Regions from separate parts of the Homo sapiens genome. Here all the other regions are linked to region 1. The links are contacts of gene promoters, found by promoter capture Hi-C in blood cells and fetal thymus (Javierre and others, 2016). All regions are on one chromosome and are shown on one strand. The core of a region is centred on a gene start or on the middle of the fragment in contact, and the rest is flanking DNA. Distances in the headings are between cores, read along the strand shown. Region 1 holds the start of RHAG (Rh associated glycoprotein). Region 2 overlaps CRISP3 (cysteine rich secretory protein 3). Region 3 has its middle 4.8 kb from the start of CRISP2.

What was found. The method cuts DNA at HindIII sites, captures the fragments that hold promoters and counts their contacts. A CHiCAGO score of 5 or more calls a contact.
Region 2: a contact is called between a fragment that was not itself captured here and the fragment with the promoter of RHAG in region 1, in 2 of 17 cell types (erythroblasts and megakaryocytes). The highest score is 33.4, in erythroblasts.
Region 3: a contact is called between a fragment that was not itself captured here and the fragment with the promoter of RHAG in region 1, in 1 of 17 cell types (erythroblasts). The highest score is 5.5, in erythroblasts.

Annotation. Positions count from the first base shown.
Region 1 is chr6:49,635,122-49,638,901 of GRCh38, forward strand. RHAG (Rh associated glycoprotein) reads right to left here and starts at 1,718. Exons shown (of 10, transcript NM_000324.3): 1 at 1,535-1,718. The coding sequence starts at 1,691. The HindIII fragment of the contact is 2,886 bases long and covers 674-3,559 here.
Region 2 is chr6:49,735,336-49,739,115 of GRCh38, forward strand. It overlaps CRISP3 (cysteine rich secretory protein 3), which reads right to left. Exons shown (of 8, transcript NM_006061.4): 2 at 1,990-2,063; 3 at 1,056-1,172; 4 at 169-256. Among named protein-coding and RNA genes, the nearest start is that of CRISP3, 7.2 kb to the right of the region's middle. The HindIII fragment of the contact is 2,761 bases long and covers 315-3,075 here.
Region 3 is chr6:49,716,426-49,720,205 of GRCh38, forward strand. No RefSeq gene overlaps it. Among named protein-coding and RNA genes, the nearest start is that of CRISP2, 4.8 kb to the left of the region's middle. RefSeq lists a silencer at 3,637-3,780. The HindIII fragment of the contact is 318 bases long and covers 1,901-2,218 here.

The DNA.
Region 1 (3,780 bases), core at 468-2,967:
ATACATCTATAGCTAGGCTACTGAAAAATGACCATGTTTAGTGACTTTCCTTCAACCTGGTGTTGATCTCAAATTGTGAATTGAAATTTTACCTAGAAGCTTTGATGCTGGGACTTAGAAAGTTCAGCTTGAATGATACAATTATTAAGCTCTTAAAGTCTTAAGATAACTTTATTTAAATCATATTAATCTTAGATCATATTTTTGGCATTTTTAACATTGTATTGCATCTCTTTGTTTACAAGTGTATCAGATAGTGGAGTCTTAGAATAAAAGAATCATATTTGTTTTATTTTTTAATAAATTTGCTGTAGCACATGCTTAGTGCTTAATAAAATATGTACTAAATGAATAAATGGATGAATGAATGAAATGTACAAAAGCATACATAGATGAACAGAATTTTTTCTGTTTTATTCTCTAACTTGCAAACTATAAAACTTATTTAATCAAGAACCCTCTCAGACATCTATGCAGTGTAAAGACAGCTAGACTTGGAGTCTAGTTTTCTCTGTCTTATTACCCTAACTCTGTCCTTAGCTTTCAATTTTATATTTTTCCTATGTCACTTAGCAACTCTAGGCCATTATTTCTACATGGGAATACCCCCATCATATTAATTCCCTCAAAAAATGTTGGAATAAAAAAAAGGGTGTCAAATTGTTTTTTAAAAAGCTTAGACATATGCTATGAAGTATAATAAACATTATACCATTTTAAATAATTTTTAAATTTTTTAGATTATTTGAACCTTACTTAAGAAAAGCAAATAGTCTATATAATAGTGACATACTACTGTCTTCCTTCCTGGCTAATGAGGTAATGGATGTGTTGGTTTATAATAAGGACGCAGTAAATGGTAGTTATTGTTATATTAACTATTTTACAGCCTACCCTTCCAAACTTGAATTAAATTTCTCTCTTTGCTCAATCATCATTCCCAAGGAAGGATTTTGTTTTTAAAATATGTTAAGTATTCACACATTTCTTTTCATCTCAAAGTAACAAACCGACTTCCTTTCAGAATATTGTAAAACTCTGAGTACACTTTTTTGATTAAAACTCCATTAACTTCCTACATCATACTAAATACCCCTTCTTATTCCTTAGGGTCCTCACATGAAATCTAGGGTTCCCTTCTTATAACTCCATTCTTAGAACTCTCTCTCCTCCAAAGTTACCTTTGGCCCTTTCAGTGGGGAATGCAAAGGAAGCGTGATACTTTTCTTTGCAGAACTAGTGACCAACTGAAGGAAAAAGGTCATTTAGCAGTAGATAAGCAATACAAAAGGCATCAATTATTTTAATTTTCAGCTTCTTGTTCTGATATTTTAATAGGAAAAAGTTCCAACCAAGCACCTTAATCACAGAGAAGAAGACCAGATGTCACATCACAAACATGTAATATCCTTAGCACTCATAACCATCATATAATTCTACAAAGAGCTCAAGGGTTTATAGTATTCAATTGTTTTACATTCTGAGAAACCGAAGAACCGAAAAATGTATAGTAAGTAGTAAATTGCCTACTCACGAGGATATAACTCAAAGAATATGCCCATGTCTGTTGGCTTGGTGATGTTGAGCTGCTCGAGAACAGTCTGGTCCGTTTCATACTCAACAAATAATCCAAATAAAACAATCATGGCAATTTCCAGGACTATAGCCATGAGAGGGAATGTGAACCTCATGTTTGTGGCAAAGGACAGAGGCACACTGAGAGCTTCACAGGCTGTGAGATGTTGATAAGAACAAAGGACTGCTCTGTGTGTGGAATTTGACTGCATGTTCAAGGCACCCCAATGACATCACAAGAAAAAAAAAATGGGCAAGACTGATTAAAATGCCCCACCCATTGGGGAAAATTATGCTCTGTAATCTAATTGTCGTTCTAAATGTTGATCTGAAGAATATGCAATGAAATTGTGAGAACCTGGATGATGCCAACAATCTATTGCACAGGCCTCTAGAATCATGTTTAACTTAATTCAGTAGACATTTCTTGAGGGCTTATTGTATACCAAATATTGTGGTAGGCTTTGTAGAAGGCATGAATCTAAAGCAATATATATAATTGGTCTGTTAACTTCTTGAGAAAATTAAGAATCTAGTTGGGAAAACATAAATATAAGTGAATGATTATATAAAAACAAATATGTGATATAATAGTGGTTATAAAAGTATTATAAAACATAAATAAGGCAGTGAAACTTTTTGCCTTAGGCCAAGAACATTAGCATATAAAACAATATGGATGTGAGAACTAGAACATAAATAGGGTTTTTCAAGTAAAACAGATAAGAGGGAATGATATAAATCTTGGAAGAACATGGCATGTTTTGGAAACGGCAATCAGTCAAGCAAAGCTGGAATGTAAAAGAGATGAAGAGAAAAGGAGGAAGTGGCAGAGATAATGTTGTCATGGAGGTGGCTGTGTTGTAAAGACCCTCACATTCAGTACCGAGGATGCTAGATGCTAAATATTATCCCATGAGCAATGGGGAATATATAGGACTGTAAGCAGTTTTATGTACTTATGAAGTTTTTGACTCCTTACTCTGATTTACGCAAGTGAAAATATGGAAATACACAAATGAGTTGTGATATATCTTTTAGTCTTAAATAGGAAGAGAGTAAACTTAAACAGGAACATAACTAATCTATCATCCTTATAGATAGTCAAGTGTAAATAAGATGCTAAGCAATTCAAAACTACCATATAGGTGGAGGAATTCTTGTCTCCTCTTTGGAATTGTTCTCATGGCAGAATAAACCTGTTTTTGAGAACTAAGAGCTACCAGTTAAATACAATTTCTTTCATGAAGCCCAATTTCCAAAAGATTCTATGCAGAATTTGGAGAGAGAGTGCAACTGACTGCCAGGATACATACATTGTAATAAATATTTATAAAACAAAGCAGCAGGATTTTTTGGTCTTTCTGGTATGATTTTCCACAGTAGAACATGATATGTTAGGACTAAGTGATATTTGAAATTTTATAAATATACAGACACTTTGAAAAATGACTATTTCCATTATTCGTTACAGCATAGTACAAGAGGAGTGGGTTCACATGCTTAGCTATGAAAATACATGTGTACATCTCACACTTTAATTTTTGGTTTTGCAGCAGCCTAAAGAGTGTTCATGAGAACTCCAACAAATCCTAAATGAAAAGTGTATATGTTAATAAACTATGCATAAACTTGTGAAAACCAAGTATCAAATAATAAATTGCAAGAACATCTAAACAATATCATAAACCAATGCGGTTTTAAACTCTTTAATAAAAAGTGACACAGTATATTAAACAATCCAAGACCGATGGCATCTCTCTTTCTCTGGGACATTTCCAGCAGCTCAGCAACCACTCAACACATGGGGAGTAGAGGATTTTACTCATATAGGTGATGGGACTATGCCAGCACTTGACTTCAGCCTGTTCAACTTCGAGGAATTCAGATTTTTTGCCTTATTCTGAATGTAGACATTTGTATTGAAATAAGCTGCATTGTCTACCATCTGGGAAATTATTTCTCTTGTTCAGTTCTTCACATAAGCTTCTCTTTGTAACTGGAAATCTTCCCACATATTCTCTGCTCCCTGTCCTATATACATCATCCATCATTCTTCAGTTTTCAGATAAAATGATACTTCCTCAGAAAAGCCTTCATTGATCTCCCATCTTGAACCAGGTTTCCACTATTATCTCTCATTGAATTGTGGTCTTTTCTTTGCAATTAGTACAGTTGGCTGTGTGTGCTGTATTTATGTAGTGT
Region 2 (3,780 bases), core at 445-2,944, 100 kb after region 1:
AGCACAGATGGTGCTTCTCAGAGTTATCTCTACATGTAGATAGTCCATATTGAAAAAGGTAGCATTAGAAGCAATATTTATTTACAAACTTTTCTTAATGCAACATCATAACATGGTTTATTATTTTACTTGTTGATTTATTCAACAAATATTTCCTAATTTACATACTTGTCATTCGATCCTTTGGGTTACTGTGTCTGTAATTGCACTGGTTTGCCCACTTTTGGGCATTTGCTGCAGCCTCTTTGTTCCATTCCTGAAACAAGGACAGAAAAAAGATATCCACTTAATGTCTCAAACCTCAAAGGAGCATAAGCTTTATAATCAGGTTATAGGTTGATTTACATCATCATAAAATTTCTGTACAAGCATCTTCTGATTTTTATAGTAATCAAATGTATATATTTTTTATGTGCTTTTATCTGCTCCACAAAGAAATATAGGTAATATGCCTACCCTAAGTAATCAAAAAATCTAGGTTTATGGTCCAATTATTTATCACAGGACATCAGAAACACCTAAAGATTTTTTGTAATGGTCCTGTTCTAAATATTGATAAACATGTGGAGGTGCTGAGATTGCTTTTCCAACAATGAAGTAATTAGCTGGCTTACTTCATTTCCAGTTCTTTTTTTCTTTTTTTCCCCCTCACTGAATATGTTCGGGAGACATGTGGCCTTTGGTACAGGGCCCAGAAAAGTAGATTGTTATTTACCCTACATGGCATTTATCTTAAAAGGAAAAGGTCTTTCTGATCTCAGATTAGGACAGATAAGATAAGGAGCAGAAAAACATAATGGCTTTTCACCGTATGTCCAAAGATTAGGTTTTAATTCTGCCTCCATAATTTAAATAGCCCTATGAATTTGACGTTATGCAACCATTATAAAGAGAAGTTAAGAAATTCAGCTCTGCCCATTACACAGCTCAAATGAAACAAAAAAATACAGAGAGAACTTTGTAAACTTCAAAGTTATTAAGAGATATTAGTTGCCAGCCGCCTACTCCTTCCACAGCTTGTTCACACCCCTCTCCTTTGCAATATCACCTCTTACCATCTTCAGCATGTTTCTGGCAGGGGGAGATACTGCTCTCCTCAGTTCATTGTGCTTATTCACAATCTCCCTTTGCACTTGTGTTTGGGTGGTTAACAAAGCAGTAAAAGCGGGATCCTAAGGGAAAATAAAATTACAATTATCTTTTAACATTGTTGGAAATTGCACATAATAGTAACTATGTTAGTTCAAGGGAACAAAGACCATTTTTAAAAAGTGTTGCCAATGCTAGGTAAACATTGTCAATGACTGCCAAAGCTATGACTTTTTAATGGAAAAGTATTAGATGAAAGTTTTCAGAATGGGGATATAATTCATGGCATGACAAACTAAAATCTCCTCTGAGGCCACAAATACCAATTTCTGGGTTAAGAGAGGTCTTAATGTGATTTTTCTAAATATATGAGTGATAACATCTTATAGTGACAAGGGTACATGATAGTAATTATTAAGACATTCACACTCAGGCTGCAGCAAAGAAGTTGTAAAGATTGAGGCATATGATTTACCCTAAGACTCTAGGGGGAATTTCTGCCTGAAATGGTGTCTGGTATTTAGAAAAAATGCTTAGGCTCAGCCTAAGTGCATGTGTAACATGCAATACTCTAGTAAAAGAGTTTTATGTATTACGTAGCAAATATTATGGGATCACTCAAAAGATAGTTTTACCACATTAAAAAAAATCTCCAAGGCAATTTGCGGGGTGGAGCAAAGTCATTTAATTAATGAACTTCAATACCCTCATGTGGCTAGGGGCTACCATATTGATCACCACAGCTTTAAACATAATTATGTTAACTACCTTGAGCTACTAATGAGTACTTTATGATGTACCAGACACTCTAGACCTTTTCACTTTTGAAGATTGATCTAGTAGCTTGCCATCCCTCATGGTTGCCTGAATTTTTCTGAAGATTTTTGACTTCAACCATACCTTATCTTCATTTGCTGGAAAAGATGGAAGCAGCCCAGCAACCAGGAACAACAGCACTGGGAATAATGTCATTGCTGGGAAAACAAAACCGGTGGAACAGGGATCTGCATTAAAATGATTGGTACATGCTGTTGAGTAACATGGGGGTGGGAGAAACGTAATGACCTCCATTATCCCAAATTCATTATTAATGTAACAGGAGAAGACTTGTCACATGGAGCCAGCAGAATGACAGTGGATTCAGCTTTCAAAGTATGCATTCAACTGGGACTATAAAGAACAAACCAAAATTCCCGACTGAAGCCCTTGAAGCATGCCTATAAATGCTAAGGACTTTCTACCTCCTTCTTCCGCAGCTCCGCAGTCTTCTCTGTGTAACTACTGTCTTTAGGTTGTAGGAGTGGATTCTTCACAATAACAATTCAGTAGCTTCCAACTGTGTTTATTACTGGGATACTACTGCATTAGCCCTTGCTGATTTCCTTAAGTGCTGTCTACACTTTTATAAATATAACCTTATTAACATTTCTTCAAATTAAAAGTTAGCATGTGCCAGTTCTTTTCCGTCAGGGATCTGGCTCATATACTTGCCATTCTTCAAACCCTAGAAAGTCCTCTACGTATATGCTTTTTATGCATACCTTTAAACTACTCTCTTCAAGTTTACCCATGCAGCCAGCATCCTAACTCCTTTCCTCTCAAAACTTTCTTTAATACCATGCCTCAAATTTAAAAAGGCAACATTTTTTTCCTCTGGATCTTAAAACAAAAAGGTAATAATTTGATTCTCATGTTTAAGGGATTACTCACCCTATCTGTATTAATATCCTTAATATGTTCACATTCTTTATCTCACTAATTCAACTTCTTAGAATTCTACTGAAATTATAAACTATACTAAAAAGTTTTAAGCATAAAATTTTCATCATGTTATCATTTATAAGGGTTAAAACATTGTAAATTAATTACATGCCTAGCAATAGGGAGATATAATGTCTAAGTAAATGAGAATACATCCTCTTATGGCAGTATATTAGACATAAAAACCACTATACATTTATGGTTGTTTTGTAACCTCAGAGAAGAAGCTTATGCTTCAGTGTTAAGTTTAAAAACAAGAAAGCAGAACAAATAGTATATGGTAGATCCTTAGCCTTCTGATTTGGACTGAACGTTAATAGAAGTAGTGACTCATCCTACAAAAGCTCTTCCTTCTTAGTTATTCACTGGTTCCTCCTGAACCTCAGCTCTGGGGGCTGGGACTGGGTCTCCCTTAGACTATGAACTTAGCTAACACCAAATCCCCACAGAACTCCCAGAGGAAGAGCTTTCCACCCCAGACTGGTTCCCAGCACTAAATTCAGCTTTCCTTCTCCTAACCAGCACCTCTGCACCCCACCACCCCGCCCACTGTGAATCTAAGTATTGGGATGCAGCCTGATATACACTTGCAAAACCCATTTTCATGCTATTAAAGTCAATGTCACAAACCATCTCGTCCCAGCATCGCCCCACAATCACCCCGCAAATATGGGACTTTGCTGGTATCCATTTGTATCACTTTTTCAAAGATATTTCCAATGGAAGAACAAGAAAATGGGAGCAGGGGAGATATACTTTTGATAACAAGTGTGGTTTTATTTTGTCCAATGCATTAATAAATACACTTGAAGTCTGAAAAAAAAAAAGAATCCACGAAAAATGATGTTGCCAGAATGCAGATCTGGAGCTCCAGAAGATTTCAAACTACTAGTGTTATAGACCTTGAAACTCACTCAGAAATAACTTAAC
Region 3 (3,780 bases), core at 810-3,309, 82 kb after region 1:
GGGGGGAATTTTCTTTTTAAGCAAAAGCATAGGAGGCAATTGTTTTGGACTGAGTTCATGCACTAGGCCCCAAAAGACCAAACCAAACCAAACCAAAACAGAGTCGCTTGTGCTAAGACATTAAGGAAACACATAGATCCTAGAAAAGACCAGGTTTTGTTTTTCTCCTGCAAATTTCCATAACAAACATTGCTGAAAGAATAGGTATCCACCCCCTAAAATTCCCATTAAATCTTTAACCCAATTCATTTCCTCTCGCCTAGAGACGATTAAGCTTTAGATGATCATGTGACAAGGGTTCCAGCCAGTTCCAGGTGAAGATGCCTCCCCTGGCCATCAAGGAGCTACCCTTCCTTCACTAGAGAGAGCAAGGCAAGAGGTCTGTGATCCCCACACCAGTCATAAAGCATTTACAGAAGAAAGACCATCGGTTGTTCCACCTCCCATAAAGACTTATGGAGATCACATCTTTCAGGGGGAAATTGAGGCAGGAGAATAGGGCCTAGAGGCAGAGAACGAAAGGACTTTCTAGAACTAAATCAAGGGGAAACACTTCTTCTAGAAACACTGTATTGGTACAGAAAAAATTTCTCAAGTGAGCATGTGTACAACTCCATTAAACACACTGTGCATGAGGCTGCTCCCAAGTGCTAGCAGGCTACTGCACATGCAGATGGCCTAATCCAAGGGAAGAGTAATGCAAGACCCTGGAAGTATGCCAACATATAAAACCCCAAGTCAAAAGGTCAAATTGTTAGAGGAAAGAATGGCTACTCCATAGGCAGAGCAGCCCCAAGGGCTGCTGGTTGCCAATTTTTATGGTTATTCTGATTATATACGAAACAAAGGGTGGATTTTTCATGTCTCCCCTTTGTAGACCATATAGGGTAACTTCGTGACATTGCCATGGCATTTGTAAACTGTCACAACCCTTGTGGAAGTGTAGCAGTGAGGACGACCAGCAGTCACTCTTGTTGCCATCTTGGTTTTGGTAGGTTTTAGCTGACTTGTTTACTGCAAACTGTTTTACAAGAAAGGTCTTTATGACCTGTATTTTGTGCCAAACTCCTATCTTATCCTTTTACTTAGAATGCCTTAACTGTCTGGGAATGCAGCCCAGTAGGTCTCAGCCTCATTTTACCCAGCCCCTATTTAAGATGGAGTTGCTCCGGTTCACATTCCTCTGACATTTCTCCTCTCCCTTTTATAAAAGAACCCTTAATCCTAACAGTTGCAGAAGGATGAAGATTCATCTTCTTTAACTTCTTCAGGCTGAATGGGGCAATGATATTTCTGTGTAACTATTAGGGTCTCTTGTGTTCAGGGTACAGAGGAGTTCAGTCAGAATGCATTAGTATGATGAAGGCCATTCATAACTCTTAAGTTCCAAGAAAAGGTGATATCTGGAAGATTTTTTTAAAAAGTTGAGTAAGTTTATCCTCTATTCCTACACAAAGAGCACAACAGCAAGATATTTTAAAACAGTAAAGCAGAATAAGCAAAATTGTCCTAAGTTAACTAAATTAGAAGGCTTTCCATGAATTGGGCAACTATTGAAACCAAGCTGATATGGGGTCACTAGCTGATTCCAGTGTGCCCAGAATTGGAATATTGATTCATATTTTTACATTACCCATTCCTTTATTTTCTTCTGAGCAGCAGCCAGAGATTGCTGGTTGGTTCACAGGAATAAGCAGGGTTAGTCTAAATTGCAGAAAAAAACTCAAAACAACTGATGAGACTAGAATCTAAGAGCAAGTACACCATAGTTCTTGAAACATAATTCTCTCTCCAGTTTCCCATTTTTACAAAGGACAAATAATGGTAAAACTGACTTGCTTTACTATGCTTGGCTGGATTCTTTGTATAAAGTATAGCAAGAATAATTATTTTTCATGTAAGCTTTTTAAAAATTGGCTTTGATGGAACTCTGTTTCATAAAAGGAATCTCAGATAAGGTTTTTTTAAAGCCAAGCCCAGCCATGGGTTTTTTACCCTCAAATACCTAACAGTTGGCTAAATTCCTCTACTCTTGAGGTTTCAGGACAATTTGGGGCTTTTAGGTCTGTCAGAAAGTGACATTCTTTACTTACCAAAGGTGAAGAACCCTGTAGAGGGACTGTGTAGACAAGGTATGAGGCCAGTTTTCTGAAGGGGCCTTTATTGGCTTTACTAGTCAAGTTTGATTCCTTAAAGGAAAGCACAGCCTTCCAGTCAAAGCTTTGATAAAATAAACAATTTCTCCAATTGTGTCCTGTTGCAAAAGAAAACCGATTCTTATTGCACTTATGCAAATAACTACATTGCCATAAATTAAGAATACCCACAAACCATTTTCAAATTCTGGATAAATCAGTAGAGAGAAACAAATGTGCTCCTGATTTTGTTTATAGAAGAATACTTTACCTAATTGTTAAAAGCTGTAAATAGCTTAAAATAAAATTTTCTAGACCCTGAAAAACAAAACAAAGGATTAGCAACATTTTAAGCACAGTCAAAAAGATTATTTTTTTAGTTTAGTCCATGCAGTTAACTCCTGTTCTGAAAAATAGTCATAAATATTTCAGCTCTTCATCAGAATCCTGAAAGTGTTTTCCTCTATTCTAATGTCACAATTTCCAAAGATATCAGGAAACCTGCATTTAGCACCTGTGAAAGTCCTATAGTTGATCATAAAACCACCTTTTTAAGAGGGTTAAAACAAGGCAATAATTGTCTGTGGATGACAAAATGTTTTAGGGCAGCCACAGTCAAAAACATGATTGACAAAGAAATTAGGTTACCTTTGTGGTATACAATGATTTTATGTAACAATTATTAATAATATACACTAAGTCATATCAAAATTATAGGAGATTTTTATAATTTTGGAACACATACCAGTAATATACTAATACAAATACAGCCCAAAGAAGGCCAAACACCATTTCATATTTGACAATGCTTCCTGTATGACTTTTATATCAAATAAACCAAATTTCACTTCTGCATTAGTGTACTATTAATGTTAAATCCAATTTTTAATAAAACCTTATAGACAAATCTATCCAATTTTAATGTCTGACCATAAGGTAATATTCTCTTAAATCTTTTATAACTCTTTATAAATTTTTGTTAAATGGTAGATCAGTGCTCTCAGAAAAACCTGTTGTGCTTTTATTCCAATGTTTAATTTTTAGAAAAACTGAAATAATACTGCTTTAACTTTAGTCAATATGTTCACACCCAGAATTTCTTTTACAATTAATTTTTCACAAACCTTTCACAACTTGCTTAAAGCTTCAGCTTCATCTGAACTCAAACAATCCTTTACCCTTTAGGCAAAAAACAAGTCACATTCCCATGACTTCTTATAATTTATTTTAAACTGAAAACACATTTTACTTTCTTTGTACACCTTTCATGTAAAACTTTTTCTTCAGTAGTCTCAATTACATGTTATAATGTTAACTCTTATCAACGTTTACTTATGGTGAAAACCTTGGTAAGTTAGGATTTTAATTGTTTACTAAATGTAGAGCCTAGGATCCAGATAGAAGTGCAGATAAGGTCTGACTTTTTCCAATGTCTAACTCCACATGTCTCAGGCTTTACCTAGCTGTAAAGTAGGCAAGTTGTACAGTTAAGAGTCATAGTGGCATTTTATGAAGCATTTAAGAGGACTAGCCACCTTTAAATTGCACATTTCTTTCATAAATTCTATTTTATAAATTCTTTCATGACTTAACCAGACCATCTACGAAGTGCTTGGGCTTTCTGACTTGTCCTAAACATCCCTCT